2 separate regions of the Homo sapiens genome follow, and region 2 is linked to region 1. Evidence: promoter capture Hi-C in 16 types of primary human blood cells and fetal thymus (Javierre and others, 2016). All regions are on one chromosome and are shown on one strand. The core of a region is centred on a gene start or on the middle of the fragment in contact, and the rest is flanking DNA. Distances in the headings are between cores, read along the strand shown. Region 1 holds the start of XPO7 (exportin 7). Region 2 has its middle 99 kb from the start of SNORD3F.

The links. Contacts are between HindIII fragments. The CHiCAGO score rates a contact against its expected background, and 5 or more counts as called.
Region 2: a contact is called between a fragment that was not itself captured here and the fragment with the promoter of XPO7 in region 1, in 1 of 17 cell types (naive CD4 T cells). The highest score is 5.1, in naive CD4 T cells.

Annotation. Positions count from the first base shown.
Region 1 is chr8:21,918,320-21,922,713 of GRCh38, reverse strand. XPO7 (exportin 7) reads right to left here and starts at 3,052. Exons shown (of 28, transcript NM_015024.5): 1 at 2,926-3,052. The coding sequence starts at 2,943. RefSeq lists a silencer at 2,696-3,135. The HindIII fragment of the contact is 3,017 bases long and covers 235-3,251 here.
Region 2 is chr8:20,514,056-20,518,508 of GRCh38, reverse strand. No RefSeq gene overlaps it. Among named protein-coding and RNA genes, the nearest start is that of SNORD3F, 99 kb to the left of the region's middle. The HindIII fragment of the contact is 655 bases long and covers 1,595-2,249 here.

The sequences.
Region 1 (4,394 bases), core at 1,803-4,302:
TCATATTCTTTCCTTCCTTTTCCTCTCGAGCTCCTGAACACCAGCTAGCACTATTAAAACTAACATCTGATCCTTCTTAATCTTCTTCATCACCACTGTTCACTGAGCGTTGTCTTCATCTCTTTGCGATAACTTACCAGCTTTAGATATGTTAAAAAAAACATGAAAGGAAGGGCAACTAAACATAATTAAACACACATAAGTAAGTTTGATTTTTTTCTCCCACGCAAAGCTTTGTAACCACCCTGCCTTCAGGGTGAAAGTTAGATAAGGTTATCTAAGACCAAGAGTAAGAAACCCATCACATCGAGGAGCTGCTTAAGGGCACACTTCTACAGACACTTGCCTGTAACATCAACAGAGCTAAAGGGCAATCCAAATATTATAATTTTCCCATTACTAAAGTTTTATAGCACTTAAAATCGTCCATAAAATACATATCCTTAGAAGAGAGATATCCAAGACATCAGCCTGAGAGAACCCGAGAATCATATGACACTCAGCCTCAATTATGAAAAAACTGCTCACCCTGGTGGTTCAGAAAAGCACTAGATAACATAATGACTCGACTATTTAGTTCAACAAATGCAACTCTCCAATAATCAGTCATGAATCTGTAGCAGACACCTTTATAAACTTCACGTTTGATTAGTGTTATAAGAAAAATATCCCCGCCACCCTCCCCTCAATGCATTGCAGACTGTCTTTAATGAATCCTTTATTTACTCATTATACCTAGGGAAGCGTGTATCTTTTTCATAAGAAGGTTTTCTGCCACAATAAAGTACCACCTTAACATCTGTGAGTGCCCAATACTATTAACACTTAGTGGTCTGACAAAGAAAAGCAGTATGTCCCATTCTCTCTAAAGGGAAAAAAATTCACTCACAAACTTACCCCGTTGATATGAAGACCACTAAGCACTAATTTAGACCAACAGATTGCAGCTCTTAAAAGTAAATAAAGGGTACCAATAAAACACTGATCAACATGCTCCCCTTTGTTTTGAAAAGTTAATAAATTCTTACTTCCGTAGATTTTTGAGTGGTGAGTGGGAGAACAACATCTTACTAAAAATAAGACAGACCTTCGTTGGAGCGACAAATGCTGTGAAGATTGCTTTGATGCATCCTGACTTTCACAGGAATGACAACCTTTATGCTTCGAAAATGTGGGAGATCACATTAAGAGATATTTCTTTACGGGAAACAGCAAATAGCACGATGTATATTCATAAAAGTACTGACTCCCTCTGCATTCCGAAGCATGGTTCACAAAGGCTATCTATTCAAAGCCTGTTCTAGAATGCTCATAGACATCCCCCCAACCCCCAGTAAGGAAGCGCACTGGACCCAAACTCCAAAGACTTTGGGACACTTAGACTTACCTTAACCAAATCTCATTATCATTCTTGTGCTTTGGTTTTTGTTCCTTTAAATGACAGAAGTAATTCCTGCCTGAGTCTTGTAAGATCCAAGAATTTTTAAAAATCACATAAAATATTTCATGCTTCTTAGAAATGACTGCTATAAAACGCAAGGTGCTATACTATTATTATTATCATTATTATCATCTCCTTGTATCAACTTTTACTGTCACTTCTGAATTAAGCCAAGGTACTGGCTTTGAAACACAAATCCCGTGGTTTTCCACCTGTGATTACGTTTCTTGCTATAATTCTGTCCTGACAACTTGTCCCGCACACTCCGAAGATCTACTTTACTGATCTCTGGCCTGAAAATTAAGTCTTTTATTTAGTCCCTTCTCTCCAAAGAAAGGGGCAGAAGTCACACCACTCCAGATTCTTGTAGACGTATTAAGAATGAGATCATTCTTCTTACTTGAGGAATGATGCCACAGAATATAAAGGCGACACTTCTTGCCCTCTAATCTTTCCTTGCCACAACACAAAACCTGTGCACTTGGTTACCTAGAAAATTGGAAGGTTCCCCACAATGGATGTGCATCAATAACTGTCATAAAAATATCAGATCTCTGGCACAGACAGGAAAAACTTTATCTAGTTTGCAAGAAATTAAACCCTGCAGTCCTCCATCTGCTACTGGGTTTGGTATGGGCTGTCCCTTTCTAGGGCCTGTGCCTGTCTTTGAGGAGAGTGGCCTGGCCCCACAGCACGCTAGGAGCAGCTCTTGAGCCGGATCAAGACCCTCCCGAGCAACGTCTGCACCCAACCCTGCATCTCTCATTTCAGACACACCCCCCTCCACCCCGTGTTTCATAGGAGGTGTGGGCGCTCAACTCCTTCACTGTGGCTAGGGGGACGCGAGGGGAGGCGGGCCGAGGCCTGAGCACCCATTTTGGAAGACCGGGGAGCTCGGCCCTCCGGGCTGTACGATTTGGAGTGTCGGAGGGAAGGGCGCATCCGTGGGAGGGGGAAGGAGGCCGGGGTTGCTGGGGGGTCTCTCGTATTCCGGGGCGTGAGAGGAAGGCGGCGGGAAAGACTCCGGAGAGCGAGGTTTATCAGCGCGAGGTTTCCTTTTTGTTATCTGCTGAGGGATGGCGGGCGTCATGGGGGCGTCCCCCTCAGTAAAGTCAGCAAGGGGGTCCCCCTCGCTTCACCGGGGGGCGGGCGGGGGGGCCCGAGGACTTGACGGAGGCCTCCCCCGGGGACGAAGACAGTGACTGACGAACGTTGTGGGCTGCGCGCGCCGGGATGCCCGTTCCTGTCCCTGCAGCCCCGCGCGCGAGGTGTGGGACCGGGTGGGAGGGGACGGAGAAGGCCCCCGGCCCGGGAGGCGGGAAAGGCCCCGGGGCTCCGGGACGGGCGGCGGCTCCAGAGCCCCGAGTGGCGGCGGCGCGGGCCTGCCGAGTCCCGAGCCGGCTGGCGCCCTGTGGGCCGTGTGCACCCCCGACTCCACTCGCCGCTCTTCGTGGTCGCCCCCTCCCCCCCGCGGCTCCTCTCACCTGCACATGATCCGCCATTTTGCTCCATTCATGCTCCTCTCCGGCCCCCCCTCCCCCCCAGCGCGCACCTCGGCCGGAGCCGCTGCCGCCGCCGCCGCCGACGCCGTCGCCGCTGCGCCTGCGCGCTGGGGACTCGTCGCGCTGCGCTCGTGGCGTAGCGCCGCTCAGCTGCGCAGGCCCCGGCGGCCCGGGCCGTGGTTGGAGAATGCGCAGCACCGCTGGGACGGCGTAAAGGCGCGGGCAACGTCAGCGGCCCGGAGACGCCGGGTGGGAGGAAGGAGCGGGCCGGGGGAGCGCGAAGGAGGGGCAGCTGGGGGAACAAAGCTTTGTTTACATGGTTTTTAAAGGGGCCGCGCTCGCTCCGGCAGGCGGGCGCTGGAGTGGGAGTTGGCGCTGCCTTCTGCTCGTTTGCGTGGTGAGGGCTCCTGGATGGGGGCCGAGGTCTGTCGCCGCCCCGGGACCCCTGCACCCAGTGGCTTCCTCTCTTCCCAACCGTCTTCCCCCTTGACTCGCCCCTGGACGTCTCCCACCCCCACCCCCACCCCACCCTGCAGCTACGGGGACCCCCCACACCCCACCTAGGCTGCCTGCGAGATTCCTTACTTTCCAATGCCCTCTACTCAACGGGGGCCGATTCTGTGCTTGTGTCTGTCTAGCTTTCTGGACCAGGGCCATCGCTCTCTGGTCTGGATTTCACCAGCAACCCCAGTGGTTGATCTCGTGTTTTTCATTTCTGTCCTTTCGTCCTTGATAAACATTCATGGAAATAACCACCGAATGGTGGTGATGATCAAAACATACGAAGGCACAGTTCTGGCTTCCCAAAGACATTGTCCTCGTTGCCAATACTCTAGACTGCCTCCCGAGAGGGTCAGATGCTGGAAGAGGCAGCGGGGCTGGTGGTTAGGACCCCTAGGCTCGGTCTTGTGGAGGTATGAGTGGGAAAGCCATCTCTCTGGGTCAGATAAGGTCAGCCCCTGCATGCTGAGGCCAATTCCAGTCTTCCTCACTAGGAATTATCTGTTAGATAATGCCGGTTCCTGTTTTCCATTGGATTCCACTGTGGCTTCCTTTTAAGGCCCCCAGGTTAGATCATAGCTGGATTCTGAGAGCACTGATTGTTTGAAGTTTGTATTTACAGGGGACTACCATCATATGCAAATGATGGTGGTAGTGAATTACACACCCTTGGTGGATGTAGTGGACCGGTGCTCAGCATTCATTTCGACTTCCGTCCTCCTAGTAGGTCTTCCTGGTTTGCAGAGGTAGGGCACCTGGAAACTACATTACCCAAACTTCCTTGCAGCTAGGGTTCTGTATGCAAATTAGGCTCTGCCAATTAGGCTGACTCAGAGAAGATTTAAGAGGCAGAAGATTTAAGTGGCAGAGCTTTTGACTGTTAACTTCTAGCGAGCATAGACCTTTTCAGATGTTGGGTTTTTGTTTTTCCCCAAAACCTCCCAGCGTCC
Region 2 (4,453 bases), core at 673-3,172, 1.4 Mb after region 1:
CACTGCCCCTCCATTTATTTTCATAAATGGATGAATCCAAGTGATCATTCTTTCCCTCCCTCCTATCCTGCCTCCTTCTTTTCACAGGGAGCTTTCTCACCAGTTCTTCTCCCAGCTGTCATTATGTAAGAACCTGGATGTGCTGCCAGAAGAATGTGAGACCACACAGGTGGAAGTGCTTTATAAACTGTAAAGTGCCATAAAAGGAAAGGGATCCGTCATTACTGTCGACTTACGCATTTCAGCATCGCTTCTGTTCCGGAGAGTCTTTATCTCCAAAGAATGATTCCTCATTCTTCCTCTTCCGTCTGTTCATAATCTAAATCCCCATATGTCTTTTCTTCATAACTGGAGCGTGTCCACTTATTCTTTTCCCTAATCTCTGCCAAATGGCTCCAAAAGTCATTCTCGGCGGAGTGTTCCGAGCTCTCCGCAAGTGCCGCTCCTCCTCTTGCCACACCCTTTTCCTAGGCAGACACAATTCCTTCTACGCTGATACTTTTTTTTAACTCTCGTCTGAAGCTTGTTCAACATCCTTTGTGCACTTCTAGGCTTTGCCAGCCCTCCGCCACCCCCGGTAATCTAGTCTAAGAATCCGCATCCAAAATTCTTCCTTTGTCTCTTCCCTATCTTTCCTTCTGCATGTTTCATCTCCCTCCTTTTCTCCGCTCCACGTTTCTTGGCCTTTGCGGTTAAGGTGGTAGCTTGCAGCCCCACGCGCATGGGTAGCAATACCCAGGTTCCAGTCACTGTCACGCTGCTACGGCTTAATCCGTGAGCTTGAGCAGAGCTTCTTGCCCTCCCTGAGCAAGGTCAAGGTGGGAAGGTTGAGCTGACTGAGCCTCGAGTCCTTTCCAGCTTGATGTTCTATTCTCTCAGGCTCTATGATCTCGAAGACCAGAGATGGCAGGGCCCCTCCCTTCAGCTCCAAAATGGATAAATCGAGTATCCATGCTCCTTTCAGGGGATCTGTCTATTCCTTATCAGCACTTCACAACTAATGTCCTGCAGAACAGCTTTCCCCGGCACGCTACCACATGTGCAACAAGAAACGAGCTCCTTGTTGAAATAACTTTAGGAAATGCTGGTTATAAAAAGGCAATAACTGGACTTTTTATTTTACTTTATTTTATTTTAAGTTCCAGGATACATGTACAGGAAATGTAGGTTTGTTACATAGGTAAACCTGTGCCATGGAGGTTTGCTGCACTTATCAACCCATCACCTAGGTATTAAGCCCCGCATGCATTAGCTATTTATTATTATGCCCTCCCTCCCCCTGCTCCCATGACAGGCCCCAGTATGTGTTGTTCCCCTCTCTGTGTCTTGGACTTCTAATCGCAAGACTTCGAGCTCCCTAATCTATAAGTAGGTATCCTGACACCCTGAGAATGCTGGAGCAGTGGTATGGCCCAAGCTTTTGTGAGCGTAACTTTGGAGAAATCCCTATTAAGTTCTCCCAGGAGAGTCCCCTAGATACAAGAGTTTCAGAAGCTCTCTTAGGACCACACTTCCACACCAGTGATCATCGCTCTTTCCTCCCCCTCTGCAGTAGACTCTCTAGGCACAGCAATTGTGCACTGTCCTGTAAGCTTTGAGATCAAAAGCTCATGTCCAGGGTGTGTGGAATGAGATCAGAAGGTTCCTCCGGATCAGGCAGATCCTGCAATTCTCTATAAGAAGGGAGCAAATAAGTCCAACAGAAGAGGTAGATGAATTGTTACCTAGTCAGGCCTTCTTTTTGGAGATATGTTCATAGATGTTACAGCTATTTTTTTTTCCACTTAATGTGGGAGAGGAAGTCCACCTTAAGCTGTGGACAAACTTTTCTGATTGTACAGCACACATACACACACACACACACACACACACACACACACACACACACACTACAAGGCTTTCAGAGTGCAGTAAGCTCCTCAGAGAAAGGTAAAAGAATCTTTAAACAAGGCAGGTGACCACCCCAGAGCTGCCTGAAAACTAGAGCAATTTGACGTCTGGAAGAAAAAATGGCTTTTAGTCACAGAAATATGCATGTAGATATTGAGTTATTCACTTAAAAACACCTGCTTTAAAAACCTCTCTGGGGGAGAACTCCCATCTATATTAGAATTCATAAAACAAAAACACTCTGAGTGTGTTATTAAAATGTTAACATCAGAAACATTGCGAGAAGCCAGAGAGGCTTTGGTTACCCAAAGAGACTGCAAGAAGGGAAATCCCCAAGCAATTACAACCCTCAATAAGCTTTTACTTTTATATGTAAAAACACAGAAATGATTGGAGGATTGTAGATACACAGTTTCAGATTGTTAGGAAAATTTATCAGATCAACTAGCATAAGAGACAGAAAGGGGTGCAAAGGAAATGAACACTGGCTGAGGTCTCCCCGACTACGTGCCAGGAAGTTCGAATGGGGAACTATCAGGCCACGATGACCGCAACCCTGCAAGTGGACCGGGATCTAGTTCCTATATGCAGAAACCAAGCCTCAAGGAAGGTAAATTATCTATTTCCATGATGAACATCTGACTGTAACAGAAGCACACTCTCTTCCTCTCCCACGCTGGCAGCGGAAAGGGCCGATTGAAGTGAGTGGCTCAGTTTCTGCCCAGCTGGGACTTCTGTCGGGGCTCAGCCTAATTCCGCATTGGAGGCATTGAAATTTCAGCATGACAGCCCCCTTCCTGAATGAGAGTCTATGTCTGGGGAATGAACCGTGAGTCCCAGATTTCTCTAATATGTTTTCATGGTGATGCTATGAAAGTCAAAACGGAATAGGAAAATAATTCTTCCAGAATCTCATCGACTCTAAAGGTATAGCGGGAAGAAAATCAATATGAGCTTGATGCCAGATAAACTTGGGTTTGAAACTCAACTCTGTCACTAACTGGCTAGGTGAGTCAGGTAGGCTACGTGACCTCTCTGAACCTGTTTCCATATTCGTAAAAAGGTGTGTGTGTGATTAAGACTGAATAGTAGTAATAATAGCTAACATGTATTTAGCACTTGTTACATGTTCATTTCTTTTCTGTGTTTTTTGCATGTACATATTTAATTTCTGACAATAACTCCGTGGCGGGGTGTTCTTACCCCATTTTACAGATCGATCGGGAGACTGAGGTATGAAATTCTCACATAATTTTCCCAAAACCATATGGATACTTAGTATTACAGGCAGGATTTGAACCCAGGCAATCAGAACACAGAGCTTTTGCTCCTAAGCACTGTGTGCTACCAAATGAGGCAATATTGGTGACAATGCCTAGCACAGGGGCAGACCCTTGATATTTGACATATTTTAGGGACCCTTCACTCTTTTTCTTTGTTGTCCCATTTCAGATTCACCTGCTTTTATCTTGAGGGCCTGAGTCAGGAGTTAACTTCAATCCCTGAAAACCTGGGTCCAATGACTGCAAGAGAAAACATGGTCTAAAAATCCTTATGCCAACTCTGCTAGAGTCCAATCCCAGCTGTCTACTTCGGTCTAGGAAGCATGACAGGCCATAACTTTTCCTACAAGAAAACTAGAGATTCTCTCTAGCCCTGTTCTCACAGTCATGAGAAAAACCAAGACCCCTAGAGAACAAGAAGCTCACCCACCTCCACACAGTTTGTGTAGCAGTGAAGAGAAAACCACAGCAACACAGGGGTGTTCTTTTATTTTATTTTATTCTTTTGTGACAGCATCTCATTCTGTCACCCAGGCTGGAGTGTACTCGTGCGATCTCAGCTAACTGGCACCTCCGCCTCCTGGATTCAAACGATTCTGGTGCCTCAGCCTCCCAAGTAACTGGGATTACAAATGCGTACCACCACGCCTGGCTAATTTTTGTATTTCTAGTAGATACGGGATTTCACCGTATTGGCCAGGCTGGTCTCGATCTCCTGGCCTCATGTGATCCTCCCGCCTCAGCCTCCCAAAGTGCTGGGATTAGAGGCATGAGGCTGTATTGCCTGGATTACCGCACCCTGCCGGGAGTACTCTTAACATGGTTCCTGTGGGGAGGACACAGGAGACAAGGGGCAGTTAGAGGATGGACCATCTCTGAGATTTTAGGAGACACATTACCGAACATGTGGCCAAACTGCTGAAAGTGCCCGAGAGTAGTGGGAGACAGTAGCCTTTTTAAGATGAAATGAGCCTACATTTCCTCAGCCCAATCCTCCGTTTTGAAGGACAGCTTCCCCCAGCAGGTTAACCAAGATAGCAGATAGATGTTTGGATTCTAGATGCCCTGCCAACCACAGTATTCCTGTCCTCTGCCACAGCTCCAAAGCAGAACCTCATCTGCAAGCTACCAACCAGGGCCTCTGGGGGATCCAAGTCAGGACCACCAGCATCTTTTGAAGCCCAAATAAATGAGTAAGGCATAAGAAACATTCCAGGAACATCAGCTTTCTCCAGTAGCCCTAAGGTATGTAAGTGAAATCAAAGTATCAGATGTCTATG